3 separate regions of the Homo sapiens genome follow, and all the other regions are linked to region 1. The links are contacts of gene promoters, found by promoter capture Hi-C in human tissues and cell types (Jung and others, 2019). All regions are on one chromosome and are shown on one strand. Each heading gives the region's core, a stretch centred on a gene start or on the middle of the fragment in contact. The rest is flanking DNA. Distances are from core to core; before and after follow the strand shown.

What was found. The method cuts DNA at HindIII sites, captures the fragments that hold promoters and counts their contacts. A contact is called where the count stands out against the background at its distance.
Region 2: a fragment that was not itself captured here is called in contact with the fragment with the promoter of TMEM14A in region 1 in 3 of the 25 tissues and cell types used here (H1 embryonic stem cells, IMR-90 fibroblasts and mesenchymal stem cells).
Region 3: a contact is called between a fragment that was not itself captured here and the fragment with the promoter of TMEM14A in region 1, in 3 of the 25 tissues and cell types used here (dorsolateral prefrontal cortex, hippocampus and lymphoblastoid cells).

Annotation. Positions count from the first base shown.
Region 1 is chr6:52,669,244-52,673,187 of GRCh38, reverse strand. It overlaps TMEM14A (transmembrane protein 14A), which reads right to left and starts at 2,075. Exons shown (of 5, transcript NM_014051.4): 1 at 1,943-2,075. RefSeq lists enhancers at 2,211-2,370, 2,359-2,859. The HindIII fragment of the contact is 4,412 bases long and covers 7-3,944 here.
Region 2 is chr6:52,536,786-52,540,905 of GRCh38, reverse strand. All of the region lies in intron 1 of TRAM2 (translocation associated membrane protein 2), which reads left to right. Among named protein-coding and RNA genes, the nearest start is that of TRAM2, 38 kb to the left of the region's middle. RefSeq lists enhancers at 3,307-3,366, 3,617-3,706, 3,887-3,936. The HindIII fragment of the contact is 4,285 bases long and covers 1-3,508 here.
Region 3 is chr6:52,439,118-52,443,165 of GRCh38, reverse strand. The region is part of intron 3 of EFHC1 (EF-hand domain containing 1); the gene reads right to left. Among named protein-coding and RNA genes, the nearest start is that of EFHC1, 21 kb to the right of the region's middle. The HindIII fragment of the contact is 6,132 bases long and covers 1-4,048 here.

The DNA of each region.
Region 1 (3,944 bases), core at 826-3,325:
CTAAGGGTATGCTTTAATTATTGCTGTCAGGTGCATTTACCCTACAGGGGAGCATGAATAAGTCAAGTGAAGAGGGTGCAGGGAAGGGTGTTCCTGGCAGAAGGGAGCGCATGTGCAAGGCCCTAATGGCACAAGAAAGCATGTTCTCAAAATGAAAAGTGCAAGGGGCTTGTGAAAAGAGAGGGTGCTGGTGAGAAAGACAGGGCTGTACACCCACATAAGCCCCGTAAAGGGAGTCTGGTTCCGTCCTAAGGGCAATGAAGGATCACTGAAGGGAGCCTCACAATCAGATTTAAATTCCAGCAAGCACTTCCCAGTTGCAGTAGTGAAGATGGGTTGTGAAGTGAGGCAGGGAGATAAATCGGGAAGCTGTTGCAGTAAAGTAAGCAAGAGCTTAGTTGATAACGGTAGGCTTATCTAGAGAAATGGCAATGAGAATGGAGAGAAGGTGGACAGATTTCAGAAGTTCAGGAGGTAGAATCAGAATTGAATTTGAGGCGGGAAGGGAAAGTCAGGGGTGAATCAGAGATGACTCACCCCTAGGTATCTGGCTTAGACCATTAGGAGAAGTAGGGAGTCGGGGAGCCTCATGCTATTCCCTGAGACAGAGAACATGGGAACAGCAGCAGGTGTGTGGCGGTGGGAAGAGGGAGGTGGCTAGGAATGATGGGACCTGTTTAGAATGTATTCAGTCTGAGACGCCCAACACACAGTCCGGAAAACACCCTTACATACAGATCTGAAGCTTATGAGAGTTCTTTCATTATCAGGTGTAACTTCTAGACCTAATTTTCTCCTAAAGCTAAGTAGCTGTTGTGAAAGATTAATTCCACTCCATCCTGAGCCCCCCAGCTCTTCCTGCGATCTTCTCTTGAGGACCCATACCCTTTTACTTGGTTGGGATTCTCTCAACTCTCAGCCAGCCAAGCTCCTTGAGGGCAAACCAAGGTTCAGTTTATCTTTGTCCTCCTCACAGCACCAAGAACCCTGCCATGCACAAGGCAGGTACTTAAAATACTTGTTAAATGAATAAATGAGTGAGTGAACCAAAGGAACAGCTTCTGCCTGAAGACATTCTGTAACTGACCTACCCAATACAGCTTTATTGCCAGGAAACAGGTAGCCCCTTAATCTCCTTAGCGAACTGACTGTTGTTCTAAAGAGGCAAAATAAATCTACTCCCAATGCTTGCAAGAAGATTCTGTTCTCACAGAGAATATTCAGACAAAAGAATCACCTATTCCATGACGGAGCCATGTGGCCAGGCCAGAAGCACACATTAAAGCCAGAGGCTGTGTTAACATGGAAGGGATAAGGTGGGAGAGGATGTGCACAGCACATCACACGCTCTCATCACAAATGTGATGCTCAAGCCTTGGAAGGACTAAAACGCATCTTGGATGCAATGCAGCAAAACGATTTACCATACCAGGTACAAAACAAGGTGACAGGGGACAGCCTCGCTGCCCGCCCCAAATCCTCCAAAATTCGGAGAATTAAGAGATTTTCGGTGAACTGTTACATAAAAAGCATTTTCACATGCTAAAGATATAACAATTACCTACCCTTGAGCTCTTGGAGGGCACAAAAGGCACATTTTCGAGTGGGGTCTGGGTGGTGCTGAGAAGGTTAAAATCCTGCCAAGCATTTTGCAATGGTCCATGAGCCCACCCCACCACCCCAGATCCAGGAAGGTAGGAGGCAGGATAGGTGGGATATTTAGGGATACCAGAAGGCAGAAACTCGGGAGGAGGAGAAAAATGATACCGCGGAGGTAAGACCGATGCCCTGCAAAATCCCCTCAAGGTCCTCTGCATCATCGTTTGCTGTACAGGTTTGGCGCGGGGGAGGGGATGCCCGCTAAGCAACGCCCCTTATATTTCTGCAGTTTTGTAAGAAAATTCAGAGCAGGAAGGTCTCCATTGCGGGATGCACAGCTCACCTGCAGCCCCGAGCCTTCACTGCAGCTGAAAAGACAGAAGTCTGGGGCCAGCTGCCGCCAAGCGCGGTACCTGGAGTCCGGAAGCAGTCTCCGCACCAGCGCTGTCCCACTCGGCGCCCAGCCGTCTCGCGCTGAGCAAAGGCCGCTCCCTCCTGGAAACGCCCTCCCTGCCGCGCGCATGCGCTGTGTCCCTTCTCGCCTTGCAGGACTCCACCCGGTCCATGCCCTCCGGCTGAATCCGGGCGGCCTGTAGGCCAGGCAGCCAGGAGGCCCTGTGCTGCAACATCCCGGCGGCAGCCGGACCCGTTGCTCCGTCTATCCTGCCTTCGGCCCTGTCCTGGAGCCAGGGCTGGGGTTTGCTGCCTCCCGCCTGACGGAGCAGGACTGGCAGGAAGCGTGTTTGCAAGAAGCCAAAATTACAGAAGGCGAAGATTTTTAAATTAACTCCATTCATCTTTCAAGGGACATTTCCAGAACCTCCAAAAGGCAACCCGAGGTCTTCTACACACCCTCCAGCAGACTGTCCCCACTGTCAGTGGAGGGAGCTAAGGTTCAGTGAGGTCAAGTGACTTAGTTGTCCCAGGTCAAAATCCAAGTTTGCCTGGTGTCAAAGCCCAAGCACCCTTCATTACACTATGGGATCATCTAGATGTGGTTGGGAGACGAGGATCCTAGTTTTAAACTTCAGGCCCAGGATTTGCTGGGTTTAGATATCTACTGGGAAAGGTATAGAATTCCAGAGTTGGAAAGCACTTAAAACCTTGCCTAATGCAAGGCAATCCGCTCAATCCCAGGAACGAAACTTAAACTGACCTTATTTTTTTTTTAAATACAGGATCTCAGTCGGTCGCCCAGGCTGGAGTGCAGTGGCACCATCCCGTCTCACTGCAACCTCTGCCTCCTGCCTCCTGGGTTCAAGCGATTCTCCAGCCTCAACCTCCCAAGTAGCTGGGATTACAGGTGTGTGCCACCTCACCCGACTATTTTTTTTTTGTAGAGACGGGGTTTCACTGTGTTGCCCAGGATGGTCTTGAATTCCTGAGCTCAAAGCAATCCTCCCGCCTCTGCCTCCCAAAGTGCTGGGATTACAGTTTAAATTGACTTTAAATTATGCCTCCCTGTAGCAACTTATCATCTCAATCTTCTGCCTTCTTGATTGAATACAGAACTCCGACCCTCTTCCTTATGTAACAGCCCTTTGGAGATTTGAAGAAGGTTGTCATAGTGAAGTAGCTCTAGAGGTTCTGTGTCACTGAGAATTACAGCGGAATTCCTCAGAATAAAAAAGGAAACTCAAAAATTAAATCTTGTGAAGTTTGTTTGCTACATCTATTCTTTGTGCATAAAAGTGCTTCAGGGAAGTAATATAACTACATCTAACTTATGAAAGTCTAAGTTGGTCCTGGGGAATTAATAAAATTCCTGAAGATTCACAGAAGAGTTGATGGCAAGGCACTGGAATGTGGCGTGGAGAAAGTGATAGCCTGAAATTTGGTTCTGAGTTCTCTCAGCCCTCCTTTCCATCCCCTTCTATGCCCATCCTTACCCCAGCCTCCTCACCTTCTCTCCTCACACTCTCAGAACACTTACCCTATTTGGAATAAAACTAAAATCCTCTTGGAATACTTCATTATCTTCATCTGATGTGACCTGGGTAAATAACTCCCCTCTGGACCTCAGTGCCTGGATTTAAGATATGGACAAGACTAGATGCTCTGAGATCCCTTACACCCTATCACCAACATACTCGAAGCTGGAAACAGCCTCATGATATTCCTACTCAAGGCGTATCACCTAAAACTAAAGAAAAACTCTTTGAATATTATGGGAATTCCATACCCTTGAATATGTGGGAACAGGATGGTTCTTAGGCAAAGGGACCACTGCCCTCTCAACTCATAGGCACCAGCTGCTGCCTTCTCCAGCTAATGGAAAGGCTGCAGCCCAAGGTAAGGATGCAGGAAAGCCTATTCCCCTCAACTGTTTTGTAAAGCTTTCTATG
Region 2 (4,120 bases), core at 117-2,616, 130 kb after region 1:
GTGTGTGTGTGATGTGACCCTTCCTACATAATTCAGTGTTCTCCTTTTACATTAGTGTATTAGCACGTTGTCACTTTTAACCTTTTACCCACTGAGCTTGGCATTTAAAATGCTATTAAACTCAATAATGTTTCCTATAAACAGCCTTAGAGGGATGAGAAATAATTGGAATGACATTTTTAATAGGCTCCTGGTTCTCAGCCCTGTGTGCTACAGGAACTCAGCTGGTGCTTGCGGAGAGGGACTTGTTAGTGGTTTCATCCCTAGTCTGAGGTCGGGAGAGGGTCATGGAGTGAAGACTTGGGGTGCTAAAGGACCTTTTAAGGCACAGAAGAAGGCTGAAGAAGTAAGTCTGCTCTTGACTAGTGCTTTTTGCTTTTTTAATGGATGGATGTGGTCAATCTAGAAGCTGATCACTCCTTCAGGTGGCTGCAGAAAAGCTTGGAGCCAAATTTCTGGCCACCTTTAGCCAATGAGTAGGACTTCCTGGAATGCATTTTTGTGGATCAGCCTCATTCCTTGCTTCTTTTCTTTGCCTAAAATGCATATTTTTTGTGTTCTTTCCTGCTTCCATTTTACATTACCATTCTATTCTATGTGCAGTATTGTGTGCCTCCTAAGTTTGTTTTTGGGACAAGGTTTTTAAAAAATCAAGTTGAATGTTGCCTTTTCTGCTTGTATAGTTGTGAGGTCTCGGGAGGCTACTTTATCTCTCTGTGCCCCAAATTTGGCTTTTTCATCTATAAACCAGGGAAACTGACACCATCTTGTTGAGATATGGTAATGTGGGAGCAAGCATGGCTGTTTACAGAGAAAGTTGCACTTTTTAGAATGGTTTCTGCTGCTACTACCAGGGGGGCTAGGGATGGAAAAATACTGGGATCTAGTATTTTTGTCATGATTATGGCCGTAGATCCTGTTCTCTCAGAATCATGTTCAGAAAACATGTTAAGCATTCATCTGTAGTCACTAAATATTATAGCTGCTTACAGTATGAGTTTGTCAAATAGGAATTTATGAGAAACCTACTATTCACCCAGCTCTGGGACAGACCGAGAGAGAGAAGACATACAGAGAAGAATAATCGTGGACAGATGACAGGATGAGGGTCAGATAGCTGAGCACAGCACCGACTCTCTCCTGCTTAGTCACTGTGTTCATTTAAGCATTTGCTGAGTGCCGCTCTGTTCTGGGGCAGTTTGAAGCCATCCATGGATGTGCACCTCAAACAAGGCAAGTCAGATCATCAAGGCAGGTCAGATCCCCACGCTCCTACAGCTTATGTTTCCCCAAGGAAGAGACAGTTTAAAAATAAAGATAAATGCTTTAGAGCTGTACACTTAAAATGGGTGATTTTTTTTTTTTGTTGTGTAAATTATACCTGAATACAGTTGTTAAAAAAGAAAAAAAATCTTGGCCCTCATGGTGCTGACGTTCAGGTTTTCCCTGATACGTTTGATCCTTATTATTTGTGGATTTTGTTTTTGCAAATTCGCTTACTTGCTGAGATTTATTTGTAACCCCCAAATCAGCTTCTTTGGTCATTCACAGAGATGTGCAGAGCTGCAAACACTTTTGGGTTGCCCAACACTCACATTCCCAGTTGAGGCCAAACAAGGCGACACTCTGCCTCCAGTTCCGGCTCTCATCCTGTAGACAGATGTCCTTTTCGTAGTCTCTTTAGTGCCACATTTTTTGCATTTTTCTGCTGCTTTTTGGTGATTTCACTATTTAAAAATGGCCCCCAACTGTCATGCAGAAGTGCTGTCTAGCATCCTAAGCGTAGGATGACTATGATGTGCCTCATGGAGATAGCATATGTGGTTAGACAAGCTTTATTCTGGCATGAGTTATGGCGCTGTTGGCCATGAATTCAATGTTAATGAATCAACAATATATGTTAAATTAGGTGTCTTTAAACAGAAACACACATAAAACAAGGTTATGAATTGATCTGTTGACAAAAATGGGACCAGAGGCTTGCAGGAACCTAACCCTGTATTTCTCCCAGGAACAAGGTTTCAGTGTTCACTAATTCAGTGTTTGCAGTGACTTGAGAGAACATAATTCATGTGAATGATGACAGTTAACTGTATATGTTGGGTGAGGGCAAGAATATATGTAGAGCCCACATACCAGATGTCTATCTTCCTTTAAAAAAAATGCAAAAGTTCTCAGACTTGGCAGCGCATTGGAATGCTCTGGGGAGTTTGACAAAATGCCCATGCCCCAAAGAGTCTGGTTTAATTGGCTGGGGTGTGGCTCAGGCACAGAGATTTTAGAAGCTCCCCCAGGGATTCTAATGTGCAGCCGGAGTTGAACACCAGTGCTCTTCCCATTGAATGATAATGTGTCCTAGAAGTGGACCCTGGCCAACTGAAGGAGGCTCTGTGGGGGCCAGCAGCACCTCCTCATACCCGCCCAAGACCCAGAGCCCAGGGCAGGGTGTCCGGTTGGCCCAGCTCCTGCCCTGAGGAGAGGGTCTATCCCCTCCATCCTCCCATCCCCCGTAGTGACCCCACACACATCCTATGCCCACACACAGCTGGAGAGAGGCTTCCCTCAGGAAACCCTGGTGCCATTAAGAGAGGAGAATGGATGGCAGACAACCCAAGCCCCACAGAGGTCTCCACCCTGTGCTCTAAAAGACATGTGCATTTCTTGAATGAAATCAAGTGGGAGATATGTGCCTAGGCAGGGTAGAGTGTTTGGTTTATGCCTGCCTGCTTTCTCCTGGCTCCTCCTTTCTCTCATTTCTTCCAACTCCTCTGATCTTCCTTCACAGGGATTTCAGGCTGAGAAGATGAGGTTTATTTTCAGAGGAGTCATGTCAGACAATATGAAGTGTTAGGTGGTTGGGCCAGGAATGACCTATATGAGTGGAGTTCAGAGAGGGAGAGCCAACATGGCTAGCGTGGGCAGGAGGGGCTCTGTGGCAGAGCTGGATTCAGGTGGCTTAGTGCCTGGAAAGGTCTCACAGAGAAGGCCGTTGATGGTAGAGGACAGCCTGGATGATGGCACTGGGGGCAGCTCCCACGACAGAGGGGGAATAAGTACAGCTGAGTGAAGCTGACTTGGCTTTTGATTTTTCATCTTAAGCAATGAGCCGTTACTGAGCACTTACTGTGTGCATCTGGGCTCCTTACGTAAGAGGGGCTGCGAGGATAAATGGGAACGGGACGGCACAGTCCCTGCCTGTGGGACTGTGAGGAGTCTGATGAGAACTGTGGAGGAGGTGAGAGCCTGATGAGAACTATGAACAAGGGTATGGAAATGATAAATACAGCAGAGCATGACACAGAGTGCATCCGGCAAGCAGAGATCATGCCCCTTGAACAGCTGGGAATGGCTTCACAGAGGTTACAATTGAGGTGGGTCATGAAGGGATGTGTGAGATTCTAATCAGGAGAGCTGTGTGTGTGTGGTGGTGGGTATAGGAAAGGTAGGACGCAAACTGAGAGTGGCTAAAACTCCCCAAAGGAAGTGGTGAGTAGAATATATTGGCTGAAACCCAGCACATCTGTTCTAAAGAAAATACAGGCAGTTGGACAGGAAGGTAGGTCGAGAACACTGAAAAAGGTCTTGACCAAAGGTAATAAGGTTTTAGGGTGGGGATTAGGAAGACCTGTATATTCGGATAGGGCTTGGTGTTTTCTATCACTCCTCTTAGCTAATCTCATTTGGGTTTTTCCCTGCAAGCCTGATAGGACATGTCTAAGGCTGCAGCACAAAGACACGAGAAGTCTTGTCCTGCATCTCTGTGTACAGAGTAAATGACACCCACTGAATGGGATGGGTCTTGTTGACCAGGGGAGTGGGGAGATTTGCTCTTTAAAGGAGAGGGTTGTCTCTAGAGGTAGCTGAGGATAGTGACCTCTCACTGGCATGTCTGGGCAACACAGGGCATCTGTGATGTATCATTCACTCATTTCCATGCTGCCTTTGCCACTGTCCAGTGTGTTTGTCCTCCACCCTATCCCTCACATGTGCATCCTTCAAACCTCTGTTAGAGAAGAACCAGCACCCCTTTATTGACGAGGTGTCTCCAGAGGGCCCTTGGGAAAGGCCTGGTCCTGGGCTGCCTCCTCACCTGGCCTTGCTGCAGGTTTCAGAACAGTGT
Region 3 (4,048 bases), core at 1,408-3,907, 230 kb after region 1:
AACTTAAACAAATTTACAAGAAAAAATAAAACAACCCCATCAAAAAGTGGGCGAAGGATATGAACAGACACTTCTCAAAAGAAGACATTTATGCAGCCAACAGATACGTGAAAAAATGCTCATCATCACTGGCCATCAGAGAAATGCAAATCAAAACCACACATCTCATGCCAGTTAGCATGGAGATCATTAAAAAGTCAGGAAACAACAGGTGCTGGAGAGGATGTGGAGAAATAGGAATGCTTTTACACTGTTGGTGGGAATGTAAACTAATTCAACCATTGTGGAAGACAGTGTGGTGATTCCTCAAGGATCCAGAACAAGAAATACCATATGACCCAGCCATCCCATTACTGGGCATATACCCAAAGGATTATAAATCATGCTGCTATAAAGTCACATGCACACATATGTTTATTGCGGCACTATTCACAATAGCAAAGACTTGGAACCAACCCAAATGTCCAACAATGATAGACTGGATTAAGAAAATGTGGCACATATACACCATGGAATACTATGCAGCCATAAAAAATGATGAGCTCATGTCCTTTGTAGGGACATGGATGAAGCTGGAAACCATCATTCTGAGCAAACTATCGCAAGGACAGAAAACCAAACACTGCATATTCTCACTCATAGGTGGGAATTGAACAATGAGAACACTTGGACACAGGGTGGGGAACATCACATACTGGGGCCTGTCATAGGGTGGGGGGTGTGGGGAGGGATACCACTAGGAGATATACCTAATTGAATGACAAATTAATGGGTACAGCACACCAACATGGCACATGTATACATATGCAACAAACCTGCACGTTGTGCGCATGTACCCCATAACTTAAAGTATAATAATAAAATAAATAAATAAATAAACTAGGTATTAAAGGAACACACCTCAAAATAATCAGAGCCATCTATGAAAAACCCACAGCCAACATTATATTGAACAGGGAAAAGCTGGAAGCATTCCTCTTGAAAACTGACACAAGAAAAGGATGCCCTCTTCCACAACTTCTATCCAAGACAATATTGGAAGTCTTGGCCAGAACAATCAGTCAAGAGAAAGAAATGAAGGACATCCAAGTAGGAAGAGAGAAAGTCAAACTATCCCTGTTTGGAGAAAACATGATTCTATATCTAGAAAACTCCAGAGCCTCATCCCAAAAACTCCTTAAGTTAATAAACAACTTCGGCAAAATTTTAGGACACAAAATCAACATACAAAAATCACTAGCACTCCTATACACCAACAACAGCCAAGCTGAGAGTAAAATCAGGAACACAATCCCATTTACAACTGTCACAAAAAGAATAAGATACCTAGGAATACAGCTAACCAGGGAGATGAAAGATCTCTACAATGAGAATTACAAAACACTGCTTAAGGAAATCAGAGATAACACAAGCAAATGAAAAAACATTACATGCTCATGGATACGAAAAATCAATATCTTTACAGTCACCATACTGCCCAAAGCAATGTACAGATTCAATGCTATTCCTATCAAATTGCCAGTGACACTCTTCACAGAACTAGAAAAAAATACTTTAAAATTCAATGGTACCCAAAAAGAGCCTGAATAGTCAAGGCAATTCTAAGCAAAAGAACAAAGCTGGAGGCATCATGTTACCTGCCTTCAAACTATACTACAGGGCTACAGTAACCAAAACAGTACAGTACTGGTACAAAAACAGACACATAGACCAATGGAATAGAATAGGGAGCTCAGAAATAAGGCTACACACCTATAATTATGTGATCTTCAACAAAGTTGACAAAAATAAGCAATGGGGAAAGGTGCTGGGATAACCTGCTAGCCATATGCTAGCCATATATCTTACACCAGATATAAAAATCAACTCAAGATAGATAAAAGACTTAAATGTAAAACCCAAAACTATAAACACCCTGGAAGACAACCAAGGCAACACTATTCTAAACATAGGAATGGGCAAAGATTTCATGACAAAGACACCAAAAGCAATCACAACAAAAGCAAAAATTGACAAATGGTATCTAATTAAACGTAAGAGCTTCCGCAGAGCAAAAGAAAGCATCAACAGAGTAAAAAGACTATCTAAAGAATGGGAAAGAAATATTTGCAAACTATGCATCTGACAAAGGTCCAATATGCACCATCTATAAGAAACTTTAATTTACAAGAAAAAAAGCAAAGAACCCCATTAAAAAGTGGGCAAAGGACATGAACAGACACTTCTCAAAAGAAGACATACACATGGCCAATAACCATATGAAAAAAAAGCTCAACATCACTATCATTAGAGAAATGCAAATCAAAACCACAATGAAATATCATCTCACACCAGTCAGAATGGCTATTATTAAAAAGTAAAAAAATAACAGGTGCTGTCAAGGTTGTGGAGAAAAAGAAATGTTTATACACTGGTGATGAGAGTATAAATTAGTTCAACCATTGTAGAAAGCAGTGTAGTGATTCCTAAAAGACCTGAAAACAGAACTACCATTTGACCTAGGAATCTCATTATTGGGTATATACCCAAAGGAATATAAATCATTCTGCCATAAAGACATACCCGCAAGTATGTTCATCGCAGCACTATTCATAATAGCAAAGACATGGAATCAACCTGAATGCCCATCAATGGTAAACTGGAAAAAGAAAATGTGATACATATACACATACATATACATATACATGAAGGTGCCAGATTTTTTGCATTTTTGTGTTTTTTGTTGGTGATTTTGCTGTTTAAAGGGTCCCAGTGCCTAGTGATGAAGTGCTATTTAGTGTTCCTAAGCACAAGAAGGCTGTAACACACCTCATGGAGAAAATGCATGTCTTAGATAAGCTTTGTTCAGACGTGAGTTATAGTGCTGTTGGGTGTGAGTTTAATGTTAATGAATCAACCGTATATATTAAATAAGGTGTCTTTAAACAGAAACATACATGAATCAAACTTATGTATTGATCAGTTGACAAAAATGTGGCCAGAGATTAGTGGGAACCTAACCCTGTATTTCCTCTAAGACTAGTGGTTCAGTATTCACTAATTCAGTGTTTGTGGTGACTTTATAGTCCTAATTACTGTCAATAATGAGAACCGACTATAAATAGATTAGGTCAAACGCTCAGTGATTAACTTGCAAATGTTCAAATTGCCCATAAAAACACAACTGTAAAAATAATTGTTATGAAAACACAACTGTAAAAATAATTGTTAATACATTTATGTTTAGATAACATTTTATCATTTCTCACTGTTGGTACAATTGTGAAACTGCCTATGATATATAAGACCTCAGACACCTAAAAAGCAAAGAGATAAAAATATGTTGGAACGGGAGAATATCTCAAAGATGGTCTAGCACCTCTACTTTTGAAGCTATTTTTCTCTATTGCTTTGGAATGGCACTGATGCCATGGCTCCTTTCTTTACTTCCTTCAGGCCTCTATTCATATGTCATCTTATCACTGAGGCATTCTCTGATCCGCCTCTATAAAGAGCCCCTCAACTTCCATTCCCTTTACTCAGCTTTATTTTCCTCCATTGCTGTTATCATCATCTGACATATAACCAATCTATTTATTTGCTATTGCTTATCTCCTCCAACAAGATTGGAACCTCTATAGGGGCAAGTACCTATAACATGCAAGGAAAGGAGAAATGGTGCACTATTAGCTTGTCATAGTCATCTGAAAAATATCAAGTACCTTCCTGAAAACATCTGGCACCTAGAACAGTGCATGGAACAAAGCAGGCATGCAAATAAATATCTGTTAAACAAACTACTAAATGAAAACAATAATGGATTCATAGGAGCTCAGTGCATGGTAAAAATTAGTCACATATGGCACTAGGTATCCTGGAATAGGGACATAAAATACTTCAGAAACTATATCTTTGCTGCTAGAAATATTTTTTTAACTAAGACAAATTTGGAATTGACTTCCTAATTCCTACACTTTGTAGTAAAGAAAGGCCACCTATATCCTCTATGCATGTAACTTTAATAAAAGTTTCCTTTGTATTAAAAAATCCAAACTTACGAAATAGAGGA